Regions from separate parts of the Homo sapiens genome. Here region 1 is linked to region 2. Evidence: promoter capture Hi-C in human tissues and cell types (Jung and others, 2019). All regions are on one chromosome and are shown on one strand. Each heading gives the region's core, a stretch centred on a gene start or on the middle of the fragment in contact. The rest is flanking DNA. Distances are from core to core; before and after follow the strand shown. Region 1 holds the start of ARHGAP40 (Rho GTPase activating protein 40). Region 2 holds the start of RALGAPB (Ral GTPase activating protein non-catalytic subunit beta).

Region 1 (6,522 bases), core at 3,108-5,607, 130 kb after region 2:
AGCAGTGTTGCAGAAGAAGATAAGGCATTTAGGTTTTAGGTCAGGTGTGAGTTGAAGAGGTTTTAGGTTTTTAAGAACACAGGCTAAGGGAGAAGAAGGAGGAATGGAGGGTGGAAGTTTGCCTATAGTGAAGGAGGCAAGCCTAGAGAAAAGAGAGAGTAGAGACATGGAGGGAAGGGGTTCGGGGGTTCTTACCTTCCAGAAAAGCGGGAAAGGGGTCAGCGCGCAGAAATAAGGGGTTGGGGCACAGAGACAAGAGGTTGGGGCACAGAAATAAGGGATTGGGGCATGGAAATAAGGGATCGGGGCACAGAGATAAGAGGTCGGGGTATGGAAATAAGGGATCGGGGCACAGAGATAAGAGGTCAGGGCGTGGAAATAAGGGATCGGGGGGTTCTTGCCCCCCAGAAAAGCAAAGAAGGGGTAGAACACGGAGAGAGGGAGTTGGGGGATTCTTGTACCCCAGAAAAGTGGTACTTGCTGCTAAGAGTGAAGGACCAAGGCAGGTGTCCCTGTGTGGTCAGACACCTCTGAAATGTGGGTGAATGATCAGAGAGGCATCCCTGCAATGATTAAACACCAAAGGAAGGCTGCCTTCCCGAGTCCATGACCGGTGCCGGGATTTTGGGTCCATGGATAAAACGTGTCTCCTTTGTCTCTACCAGAAAATGAAAGGAATTGAAATTAAGAGAAGGGAGAGATTGAAGTGTGGTGCCAAGATTGAATGGAGAAAGAGGTTGAGGGATAGTGAGGGAGGTTGGAGAAGAGAGTAAAAACAGGCTGCTTAGCGGATTTAAAATTGGTGAGATGTTCCTTGGGCTGGTGGGTCTGAGGACCCGAGGTCATAGGTGGATCTTTTTCACGGAGCAAAGAGCAGGAGGAAAGGGGATTGATCTCCCAAGGGAGGTCCCCTGATCCTAGTCATGGCACCAAATTTCATGTGCATCCATGTGAAGAGACCACCAAACAGGCTTTGTGTGAGCAACAAGGCTGTTTATTTCACCTGGATGCAGGCAGGCTGAATCCGAAAAGAGAGTCAGCAAAGGGAGATAGGGGTGGGGCCGTTTTATAAGATTTGGGTAGGTAAAGGAAAATTACAGTCAAAGGGGGGTTGTTCTCTGGCGGGCAGGAGTGGGAGTCACAAGGTGCTCAGTAGGGGAGCTTTTGAGCCAGGATGAGCCCGGAGAAGGAATTTCACAAGATAATATCATCAGTTAAGGCAGGAACAGGCCATTTTCACTTCTTTTGTGGTGGAATGTCATCAGTTAAGGCAGGAACCAGCCATCTGGATGTGTACGTGCAGGTCACAGGGGATATGATGGCTAAGCTTGGGCTCAGAGGCCTGACAGTCACATTCAGAGCTACTGGGGCTTAGGCATTCACATGTTTTTCATATGTTTTTGGTAGGACACTTGAACCCATAACACTCTCTTGAGAGTTTATCATGAGGATTGAATGTGGTAATGCATGTAAAGCTGTGATCACAGTGCTTGGCTGGCACTTCATTCCATAAATTACTTTTGAAAGAAAAAATTGGCTGGGCATGGTAGCTCATGCCTGTAATCCCAGCACTTTAGGAAGCGGAGGTGGAAGCATCACTTGAAGCCAGGAGTTTGAGACCAGCCTGGGCAACATAGTGAGACCCCTGTCTCTACAAAACAATAAATAAAAATGGCTGAGTGTGGTGGCACACGCCTAGTAAATCCTAGCTCCATCCAGAGACTGAGGCTGGAGGATCGCTTGAGCCTAGGAGGTCAAGGCTGCAGTGAGCTGTGATCACACCACTGCACACCAGCCTGGGTGATACAGTGAGAGCCAGTCTCAGAAAAGAAAAAGGAAGAAGCTGAGCACCTGGAAATTAGATGCTCTATGTACATTGTGTGCCAGGCCCCATTTAAGTGCTTGATGTGTATTATCCCACCAAATCCTCACAACCACCCCTCAAGCCAGGCAAGGTTTTCATTTAAATGATGTGGAAGCTGTGACTGAGAGAGGTTAAGGCATTTGCCTGAAGTCACACAGCCTAAGTGGCAGAGCTGAGGATCAGCCTGAAGCCTATGAGGCTCCACCTCATCACACTACATAGGACTGTGCTGTAGTGTGGAGTGGGGGCTGCTTGGAGGGGCAGAAAGCCAGGGAGGAAATGCTGAGCACACAGCACACAGGCCCTGGGGGGCTTTCTGGGTCTGAGGGACCTGGAATGAGTCTCTGCGATAGTGAGAGGCCTAGCTGATGGCAGGCTGCCTGGGGAGGTGCTGGCGAGCTGCCAGGGTGCAGGGCCAACAGGTCTGAGCCACTCCACTGTGACCTAACCGGCCTGGCCGATACTGCAGGTGGGGGGCTGGGACAGGGCTCAGCCGGGGGTGAGGAATGTTGCCCTGAGCGTGGGTACACTCACTTCTCCAGGCTTCATTCTGAGTATACGCGCGGCTCTCCCGGAAGCGAAGAGGGCACTTCCTTACAGAGGCTTGAAAGTGTGGTCATCCAAGATTCAGGCCACTCTCTCTTCCTTCCTGCTTTCTTCTGAAAGGTTCCTTGCACCTAAGGAAGGTAACAATGAACTATGTTTTCAGTCTGGACTAGAAGTTCATTTACCCAGGTACTAACTTGTTTACTCACTCAAGCATTTATTCATTCATTCACTCATTTACTCTTCCCCCCATTCACCTAATGGCTCACTGATTCATTCATTCACTCATGCTCTCACATATTCATGCCCACAGCCATTCACTCTTCCACCTACCCATCCACCTACCCATCCATCCATCCATCCATCCATCCATCCATCCACCCATCAAACCAACCATCAACCTCTTATTCAATTGCCTTCCCATTCATCCCTTCTCTCATCCCCCATTTTCCCAACCAATCTTTCATTCTTTCTTCCATCTATCTATGCATCCATCTATCCATCCATCCACCCAACCTTTATTAAGCACCTACCATGTTTCCCACCCAAAACTCCCTATGGCTCCCAAAGTAGTTCTGCACCCACTTCGGCTGACAATTCACCTACATATTGGACCCCAGCTCCTTGGCCTCACAGTGGCATGGTTCCCTTGTCTCCTCCTCAGGAGGAGGCTCAGGAGAAGTGGATGGGTGGTCTTCTGCACAGCCCTGGTCTGCAGGTTCCAGCCAGTGACAGCCACCTGAAACTTGGGGTTTTTCAGGACCCTTTGTGTTGCGAGGCCTTTCCCGTCTTTAATGCCAGAACCATGCATGCTCCTGGGCTCTATGGCTCCCGTGGGGCCCTGTTTTCAGTTTCTTGGGGCCCATTTCTTGCCTCCCTAAGGCCAGAACAGAGCTTCAGACTGTGGGGACCCATAGACTTGGGGGCCCTCCTTGATGAGGACTCTGGGGCCTCTCTTCTTGGAGTACAGGTGAATATGCTTCCTGGAAAGATTCACTGACACCCGGAGGCTTAGAGGAGGGCAGGGCGGGCCCGGGCAATCTGGGGAAGTCTATGGCATTCAGTCCTGGCCAGAGGGCAAGAGAAGGGGCTCATGGTCCAAAATGGATGCAGGGAATAGGACACCGCCAGGGAAGCTGGCAGGAGCGCTTCTCATACGTTCCCCAAATGCCCTACTGCAACACCTTGGCTTGTGTCCTTGTTGGCACCTGGAAACCCCTTCCCACTCCCCACCCTGACACTCAGCCTCTGCTCTCCTCTCAGCTGAGTCCACACTCTCCTGCTCTTTGCTTTCAGACACTCTGGTCGCCTTCCCCCAGGGCCCCTACAGAGCTCCATAAAGATTTGCTAAGTGAATGAATGAGTTCTCATTTTACAGAAGAGGGGGTTAAATTCCCTGGGTTTTCCCCTTACCCAGCCTTTCCCCAGCTAGTTCCTCCTCCTTTACATCCCAGCCAAAAGACCAATCCCGGGAGGCTCTCCGGACGCCCCCTCACTTTGCCACTCCCATTTCCTGCTCCCTTCCTATCCTCCCGCCCCCGTGCCCAGGTCCTGCTCTCTTTACACCCTGACATCTTCCTGCTTGCTTTTTTCCTGTCTCCTGGCAAATGTCACCATCCCCATTTCACAGAGGAGGAAACCGAGGCTCAGAGAAGCCTCAGAGGGAATAGCCCAGCCAGATAAAAACCCCTGGGTCGTGAGCACGTTCTTCCACCCATAGTAGCCAGGTGCTTTATTCATGTGGTTTTACTCTGAAATCGGGATGGCTGTAGGTAATAATAGTGGCCATGCAAATCATATTTCATGACAGTTTTTGAAAGGCGCCGTTTCCACCTCGCAGTTCCAGTGCAGGCGGGTGGGACTCAGTGGTGTGTGTGTGTGCGGCGAGTGCCTGCCTGTAGGTGGCCCCGGCCAAGCCAGCCCCGCCCCAGGAGGAGGCTGAACATTAGTCCTGCATGAGGGTGTCTGGGAACTGGGTGCGCCACGGGGGCCCTACCTCACTCCTCCCTCTCACATTGCCGATCGAGTCAGCCCCACGGCGGCAGCACCACGACCGACCGGGATCCTCGAGGTGCCAGCCCATGGCCGAGCCTGCCCTCCTCCCCGCCGCCCAGATGGAGAGGCTGGCCCCAGGGCCCCTAGCCTCACCGTGTCCTCGGATCCCGCGGGCCCGCATTGCCAGGCGCTGCGCCCAGCGCTGGGCCGACCTGGGCTGCAGGTACAGGGGTCACGGGAGCGGGAGGGAAGTTGGCCCTACTATGCACCAGGGGCATGTGCGGTCTGTCTTCACAACATCCCTGTGAGGCAAGAATCTTCCTCCATCGTACAGATGAGGAAACAGAGGCTTGGAGAGCCCGGTCACCTGGCTGTCAAGTGGTGGAGATGGCTTTTAGCCCTAGTCCATGGGACTCCAAACCCAGAGCCTTCCTGGGACACAGCATTGCCCTGGGTTCAGGCTACTGGCCTCCTGCAGGGGTCACTGATTTTCAGATTCTTAGAGACCGTGAGTGACGCCAGTATGTGCCATTTCCTCTTCCTCTGGGTGTAGAGTCTTAGGGGGCCCAGGGGCTCAAGATTCAGGAGTCTCTGGGTCAAGTTTCTGGGTCAGTGTGGCCGTGTGGTCACCTCGGCTGAGAACTGGTCACCCCTTATTCCTGCTCAGCCTGCCACTGACAGCCAGACCAGAATTTTCAAATAGTCATTTCCCCCACTCTGATTACATCATATTACAATTTGATTATTATAGAAAGTCAAACAGTGCAGGAATACTGTACAGGAATACATATGTTCATTCTTGAAAACTTACTACTGTTAAAGTTTTGACATATACCTTGGGAGAACTTTTTGACATATGTAAACCTAAACTTGTATAGTTTTACACAAATAGGCTCTTGTGTTACATGTGCTTGTAAGGTTTTCCCCTGCAACCCCTCAATTAATGTTATGGACATATTTACATGTCAGTAACATAAAGATCCAATTCATTCACTTTAGTGGCCTGCCAGGATCCAACTTTATGGATATCTTTGGTTAATTTGAATCAGTTCCTGGCTAATGGACATTTAGGTTGGTTCCAATTTTTAACGATTCTAAGCAATACAGCAATGAACATCTCTGGGGACTTGCATGGGTAAAATTCACATCCTAGACTTGTAGTTGCAAGTTTAAAAGGAATGTTAGAATCTGAATAGACCCTGCCCTCCAAAAGTGTTCTAGCTTGGAACACACCTGCAGCAGGAGACCCCCATTGCCCCATTCATTTGCCACCCAAGGACCTGAAGACTAGACGTGGTCTGTACTCAGAAAGCAGATTCAGGGAGCAGGTGATCCTGATCGTAGGACAACTGAGTCCTAGAATTCCCTTAAGGGAACAACTTCTAGGCTCAGGAAAGGGAGGGGGAGCTTAGTGAGACCATTTCATTCATACAGCATGTTCGCTGAGCTCCTATGTGCGTGGGGCTCTGCCCCATCACAGGCAAAAATTACTCAGGATAGGATTTTAATAAGAATCAATTTTAAGAAGCCAAAGACAAGTTTGTTTATCTGTCTATCTATCTATCTATCTATCTATCTATCTATCTATCTATCTATCTATCTATCTATTCTATATCTAATCTATCCATCTATCTATCTATTCTGTATCTAATCTATCTATCCATCTATCTATTCATCTATCTATGTTTCCTATTGCTGCTATAACAAATCACATAAGCTTATCTATCATCTCTCTCTCTGTCTCTCTCTCTCATTTATATTAGTTTTCTATTGCTGCTATAACAAATCACATAAACTTAGTAGCTTAAAACGACACAAATGTGTTATCTGACAGTTCTGAATGCTGGAAATCCCCAAATCGAGGAGTCTGTAGGGGTGCATTCTGTCTGGGGGCTCTAGCAATCTGTTTCCTTGCCTTTTCCAGCTTCTGCAGCTGCCCACATTCCTTGGCTGATGGTCCTCTTCCGTCTTCAAAGGCAGCTCTGTAACATCTTCACACATCTCTCTGACTCTGACCTCCACAGTCATCCCCATGTCTCCTTCTCTGACTCTCCTGCCTCCCTCTTTCATTGATAAGGATCCTTGTGATGACATTGGGCCCACTGGCTAATCCAGGA
Region 2 (7,052 bases), core at 3,488-5,987:
GTGAGCCACCGCTCCCGGCCTAATTTTTGTATTTTTAATAGAGACAGGGTTTTGCCTGTTGGCCAGGCTGGTCTCGGACTCCTGACCTCAAATGATCTGCCCGCCTGGGCCTCCCAAAGTACTGGGATTACAGGCGTGAGCCACTGTGCCCAGCCGGGTTTAATGCCTTTATAAAAAGCAGAAGAGACACCAAAGCTTCCTCTCTCCAACATGTGAGGACATAGCAAGAAGGCAAGTGGGGAAGAGGGCCCTCACCAGGAACCAAATAGGCCAGCACCTTGATCTTGGACCTCCCAGCCTCCAGAGCTGTGGGAAATAAACATCTGTTGTTTAGACTGTGGTACCCAGGCTGTAGTATTTTGTTATAGCAACCTGAGCAGACTAAGACAGAGGACATAGGCATGGCCAATCCTGGAGGACAGACTGACAGCTGATCCGGAGTCTGCCAAAGTGGTGAGGTGACTGCCCTGGAGTCAGCTGGGGAAGGGGTGCACAGGTAAAGGATGCCTGCCACACGTATCCCCCTCCCCAAGATCACCCTGGCTGCAATAAGCCAGAGGTGGTACTCTGGTCTGAAGACAGAGGTATAAGCCAAGGCATATATCCACTCAGGCAGCTCAAGCACAAGCATTTGCAGAGCCCAGATCCTTGAACTCGTGCTGTGTCCAAGTGAGTGAAAGCATGTCAGCAGCATTTCTGACAGCCTAATCTCATATAATCTAGTGAAAGAAATTCTACACCAGGCAGCAGGAGTGAGCTGCTTGCAAGGCTGCTCTCAGAACCAGATCTGGCCATGACGACTCCATAAACATGAATTCTGGAGCTTCTCAGGGCATCTGGTTGACCCTACATATGTGTGAGAGATGGGTAGGGGTAAGAGAGAGGGTTGGAGAGCACCCTGAAGAGGAGAAACAGCAAATGGGACCCACAGGGAAAGGACTTGGTCTGGAGCTCGGTTGCCCTACCTAGATGGCACCACTCACCCTAGCTAGTCCCAGCCACTGGAGAGAGACTTAGAAAATTTCAAGGTAGAAAATTGTGGTCAACAAGAGTCACATGGGATCTGGTCTAGACAGAGACACCCTTCCTAAATGGCATTGCTAGCCCCAGAAGGGCACTTACAAACTTTTGAGGAATACAGTCCAAAGTGCAGGACCCTCTTAAGGCACAGAGTCTGGCACAAGGGGCCTCACTTGCCTGAATCTAATGGTGTTACTACCATCAACCACTGGATACTATCCACTAAGAATTAACAGTAGGAGCAAGAAGGTGGGTTCAGCACTGAGCCAATGAAGTTTCTATCCGTCCCCTCATCCATCCATCCATCCATCCATCCATCCATCCATCCATCCATCCAACACATGTTCATTGAGCACTTAACACCATGCCAGTATTGTTTTAGGTTCAGGAAAACAGCAATGGGTCTGACCAACTATTTCTACCCCAAGCTGGTACTGCACAATTAAAAAAGAAGGAAAAATAAAACAAGAAAAAAATGGCCACAGACGTATCTCACATACAGCTGTTCATTTACAAACTTTTCTCAATTATGGTTCTTGAAAAGTGTTCCAATTACTGCGACTGTATACAATTTAACCCAAAACTTAGTGGTTGGGGTAAATGACAATGTTTATTTTACTCATGAATCTGCTATATGGACTGCTCAATATTTTTCATGGATCCACATCTCTTATGGGCTGCTCTCAATAGGGTTAGTTTGTCCCTGCTCAGCTTGGTGTCAGGTTGGGGTGGAGGCTTGAAGCCTGGGGGCTGGAATCATCTGAAGGCTTCCTCACTCATATGTCTGGCTATTGATGCTGACTGTCACCAGAAACTTAGCTAGGGCTGGTAGCTGGAACACCTCTTCATGTTTTCCTTATGTGGCTTGGGCTTCCTCCCAACATGGTGGCTGGGGTCCCAGAGTGAGCATTGTGATAGGGAGCAAGCCAGGTAGAAGCTGTGTCTTCTTTATGACCTAGCCCCAGAAATCACATAGCATCACTTTTGCCCTATTGGTTAGAATGGTCACAGACGCAGCCAGACTCAAGGAGAAGGAACATCAATCCCACTTCTCAGTGGGAGGAGTGTCGGTTACATCATAAGGAGAACCATGGGATGGATCATATAGATTGGTATGGCATCTCCCAGAATGATGCTTTCAGGGTAAATAAAACAAAAAAGACTGGTGTAGTGATCTTTGGAAAAAAGTCTGTCACAAAAGCTTATACCGCTGCTCCTCTTTTTTCCAATTCTGTGCCTTTCCAAACACACTATACACAATGATATTTTGACATTACAGTTCAGATGAAGACATTCCCCAGTTTAGTCGATGTTTCTAGTTAGAGATCATGCCGTGGAACAAATTTGAATTGTGCACTATGTTTGGAGATCCAAAATGTTTTACTATGTGTAGCATCTCATGTGTCTCTTAAGTTTATTGTACATGTGTGCTTTTCTCAAATGTTTCAAAGTGTTCTAATGTTTAGTCTTTAATTTTCCCTCAAGGTATATGTGCGTATGTGTGTTTTATTTTTATGTTTGTTTAAGTGAAGACTTCAAAAGTTTTAAAAAATTAGCAAAGAGTGCAGAAAAAACATATCTTTTATGCCAGGCACAGTGATGTGTGCCTTTAGTTCCAGCTACTTGGGAGGCTGAGGCAGGTGGATCGCTTGGGCCTGGGAGTTTGAAGCCAGCCTGGGCAACATAGCGAGGCCCTGTGTCTTAAAAAAACAAACCATCATTTAGAGAACCACTCACTTGCATCTCTCCTCCACCAACTTGCACCTAATATTAAATCTTGTCTTTCTGTCCAGAGCAGTAAGTCTTACTGCCTTACATGTTATGTAAAAACCATATTTTAAGCAAAATTATTTGTTTGTATAATTTTCTGTTGCATCAATATATTTTTTCTGTTAAAAATATTTAGGTGCCTTAGGCTGGAATTGAACACAATTTTGCCCATTTTAATTAATGGGAAAAATTTAACAGCTTTCCACTTAGAAGCAGAATTTCAGGAATGAATTGAAACCACTAGAAGGGTGATAGCTGTATTTTCATCATCTCCCCAAGGGCTTTGGGACAGCTTTCCCATCCTCTGTGCCTGTCACTTTTCCAATTCCCATCACCCGTTGTTCTTCCAGTTAGTCACCCCTCCCTTGTCTGTTACAGGGGTTCAGTATTAATTGTGTTAGAATGCATCTGGTTGCAAGTAACATAAAACTCAACAAACTCTGGTATATATAAGATCCCTCATCCCGATAAGACAGGAAGGTAGTACAGGGTTTGTGTAGCTGCTTGAGTATGACTTAAACAAACAGGCTCCTGTCTTTCTGCTCCACCTTCCTCAGCACAGCCCTCCTCATGGCCTCTAGGCTGCTGTGCTCCCAGGTGTTACCCAGTTCCAAGCATGAAGCAGGGGAAAAGTGAAGGACACAAACTTCTCCAAGGGAAGAAGGAAGGGAAGGTCTCCTTTGATACTTCTGCCTACATCTCAGTGGCCAGGACTTTGTCTCACTGCCACCCTTAGCAGCAAAGAAAGTTGAGAGTTGTGTGCTTTGCTTTTCAGCCCCTGTAGTATAGAAAGGCAAGGGAGTGGTTGAAATAGATCTTGAGTTAGCCAACTACATAATTTGTCACACTGTGTTTAATTGAAATGTATTGCTTGGATCCAGTGTCCTGGACATAGCCTCGTTCCTGTCCTAGCACATTCTTACCCTCCTTTTCCCTCTTCCTTCCTGTAGCTATTTTTCTGGGGGGTGAGGTGTGGTCTTGAGGAAACACTCTTCAGTTTTACCCTTTCTGTGAGGATACTAGTTCCCTTATCACTCATTCCTCCATAGTCTCTTCTAACTGAGGTGAGGAGTCAGAATCTTCTTTGCTCCCTTCTGCTTTTCAGACAACCGTGCCTTCACCTCTACTCAACACCCTGACCCCTCCTCCCTCTCTCAATACCCAAGGTCAGTCTCAAGGCCAGGTCCTCCGTGAAGAATTCCACCATCCCTCCCTCCTCTTCTTTCTCAGTCCAAGTTTCCTCCTTTAGATTCTCAAAGCACTTAAGCTGTACCTCTCCAATGGTATTATTTTCTTCGTTGAAGTGAAAGCAAATTATTGAAAGTGGTACTGTTTACAAAATGTCTAGCGCATGGCAGGTGCTCGAAGTAGTATCTCTTAGTATTATTACTACTGTCTTATCTCGATCAGATTCAGCTCTTTAATGAGAGGCTCTAAATCTTATGTTCGATTCACCTTTGTAACCCACACCGGGCCTGGAATAGAGCACTGTTCATAATTAATGCTGTGCCCGTGTAATAAGACGGCGGCGAGCAAAGGGCATCATTTCAGAGGAAGAGTGCTGTAATGGTGGGATGGGAGAAATTCCTAGAACCTAGGTGGGAGCCAGAATCTTGCAGAGAAGCCCCTTATCCGTCTGCACCGAAAGCAGGTAGAGTGGATGCCGTAAGATTCCTAAGGACGCAGGTAGAGCGCCTCCTCTGTGCCGCGATGAGGTAGGTGCATCCGTCACTTCACTCCTCCCTCTCCACTTGATCCGGAATGGGAGGAACGCAATGCGTCCCGCGCGGCGATCTGGGATAGCTGCGCAGGCGCAGCTTCCGGCTCTGTGTCTCGGGAATTATTTGACGCCACCGGTTCAGCCCCGTAGAAAGCTCTGATTAGGCGCACCGCGCACGCGCAGTGGCCCACTTGGCTGGGGAGTTATTTGACGCCGCCGCCCCTGGCAGTCGGAAGTTGCCTGAGCAGATCCCAGCCGGCTGGCTCGAGTGGCCTTCGTCGTCCCTTGGCGCCCTGGGAGAGTCGCTGACGGGTGGACTGACGGACCGCCTGAGGACGGCCGGCCAGGGCGGTGAAAGCGCCAGCCCTATGGCGCGGGTCGCGTGAGGCGGAAGGCCGAGGACGGCCGGCGGCGGCGCCCGCCCCGGCGATGCGGGCCCCGCCCGTCGCCTCAGGTAACCGGGCAGCCGGCCCCGCCGCGGCCGGACCCTCCCCTCTCCTTCCCTCTCTTCCCCACCTGGCGGTCAAGGGACGGCTGAGGCTTGTTTCTCGGCTCTGGGTGCTCCAGGGGCCCGGCCTTTGGAAGCTCATCTGCAAATTTTTGGGAGACCCACGGGGGCGGGGAAAGCTTGGCCCTGGAGTGGGCGGCTGCTGTCGAGTCTGTGTAAACCCGGTCTAATCCTTGGGAGCTACCCCGGCCAGGCGAAGCTCTCTCCTGGCAACCTGGGGGAGGGGGCGGGTCTGGAGCGGAGCTAGACAACTCCCGCAAAGAATTTGGTCCAGCAGAAAGGTTAGGCAAGTTGCTGCCGCCCAGTGGGGACGATGCTGCCCATTGCACAGTGACACTTTGATGAGGGAGAGTTGATGATGGGAGTAAACAGCTAACCCCCATTAAGCGCTTCTTATCCGCCAGGCATCATGCCAGGCCATTACGTTCTCCACGTCTAACTTCACAGCAACCCTGTGAGGTAGGATTGTTGTCCCCATTTTACTGACGAGGCAACTGAGTCCCTGGGTGGTTGGGTGACTTAATTACCCAAGGTCACATAGCTAGTAATTTGAACCGGAGCATCCGACCCAAGTGCTTAACAATTAGGGCAGTGGCTCTCCAACTTTGCTACACTGTAGAATCACCTGGGGGAAATTGTAAAGGTTTCTGATGCCCATGTGGCATCCCAGACCAAAACAATCAGAATGTCTGGAGTTGAAAGCCAGACTTCAATATTTTTTTTTTAAAGATGCCCAAGTGATTCCAGCTTGCAGCAAAGTTTGGGAACCGCATGTAATTTGATAATTCTGCATCTCAAAAAGCATCTCTCTTTCTCCAGCTTAAGTGTGCAGGAGAATTGTCTGGGAGCTTGTTAAACTTGCAGGTTCCACCCGCAGAGATCTTTAGGTTGACTGACCACTACACCTTGTGAAAGACTGTTAGGGATGGAATTCTCTGCAGGGATTCTGAGTCATCTGGAACATTTAAAATGTATGCATCTTATGCAAACTGCTCGTTTGCAATTTTCCTAAATATACAGTACTTATAGGTGTAGCGTCTGTAACCTCTGGGTCGTTTTTACATATGCTGGAAGTCTGCCTAGACCATCCTCTGAACGTTCTGGCCATCCCACCCAAACGCACACACTTCTGCTCTCTCCTATATGCATATACACACCCTTTTCTTTTCTTTCTTTCTTTTTTTTAGACAGAGTCTTGCTCTGTTGCCCAGGCTGGAATGCAGTGGCATGATCTTGGCTCACTGCAACTTCCGCCTCCTGAGCTCAAGCAGTCCTCCCACCTCAGCCTCTCAAGTAGCTGGGACTACCACGCTTGGCTAATTTTTGAATTTTTTTTGTAGAGATGGGGTTTCTCCATGTTGCCCAGGCTGGTCTCAAACTCCTGGGCTGAAGCAGTCCACCCACTATGGTCTGCCATAGTGGTGGGATTACAGATGCGAGCCACTGTGCCAGGCCTACATACCCTTTTCTTCCTGTCTCTGGCTGCATTAGCTTTAAGCATTCCCTTCAAGATACCTCTGTCCCTGACCCCTACCCACCTTGAGTCCTTCCAATTTGCTCTTTAGGAACATCGTAGTGAAACTTATCAGTTATTTTTCTGAGTTGTAGTTCTATCCCTACTTCTAGATTATGAGAAGCTTTAGGGCAGGGACTATGTTTTCTTCATCTCTGTATTCCTTCCAGTGCTTTGACATACAGACTCACAAAGCTTTTACTCAGTGGAATGTTTGGGTCCTTTTATGTCATAGATAGATCATGTTGCGAACAGATTCTTCTCTATTTCCATTTTTGTAAAAGATGTTTGGTAGTTCCCAGCTTATAGAGTTTTGTTCTTTTTGCTTAGGAGTGAGTATTCTAGTTATGTTCAGCAATTTGTCCAGCAGTTGAACACACACATTGAGTTCTTACCAATTGCAAGGCACTCTGTAACTAACCATGTGCAATCAACATTGTTTGATTTTTAATGTCTGATTCTATCACAATCGGACGCAATCATGTCTGTAGGGAAAGTCTTTTTATTACTGTTAGACCTTT

What was found. Contacts are between HindIII fragments. The study calls those that stand out against the background at their distance.
Region 1: a contact is called between the fragment with the promoter of ARHGAP40 here and the fragment with the promoter of RALGAPB in region 2, in 1 of the 25 tissues and cell types used here (heart right ventricle).

What each region holds. Positions count from the first base shown.
Region 1 is chr20:38,597,452-38,603,973 of GRCh38, forward strand. It overlaps ARHGAP40 (Rho GTPase activating protein 40), which reads left to right and starts at 4,358. Exons shown (of 15, transcript NM_001164431.3): 1 at 4,358-4,628. The coding sequence starts at 4,492. RefSeq lists an enhancer at 2,939-3,480. The HindIII fragment of the contact is 9,850 bases long and covers 1-6,522 here.
Region 2 is chr20:38,468,106-38,475,157 of GRCh38, forward strand. RALGAPB (Ral GTPase activating protein non-catalytic subunit beta) reads left to right here and starts at 4,738. Exons shown (of 30, transcript NM_020336.4): 1 at 4,738-4,964. RefSeq lists an enhancer at 4,459-4,528 and a silencer at 4,819-5,018. The HindIII fragment of the contact is 4,688 bases long and covers 1,209-5,896 here.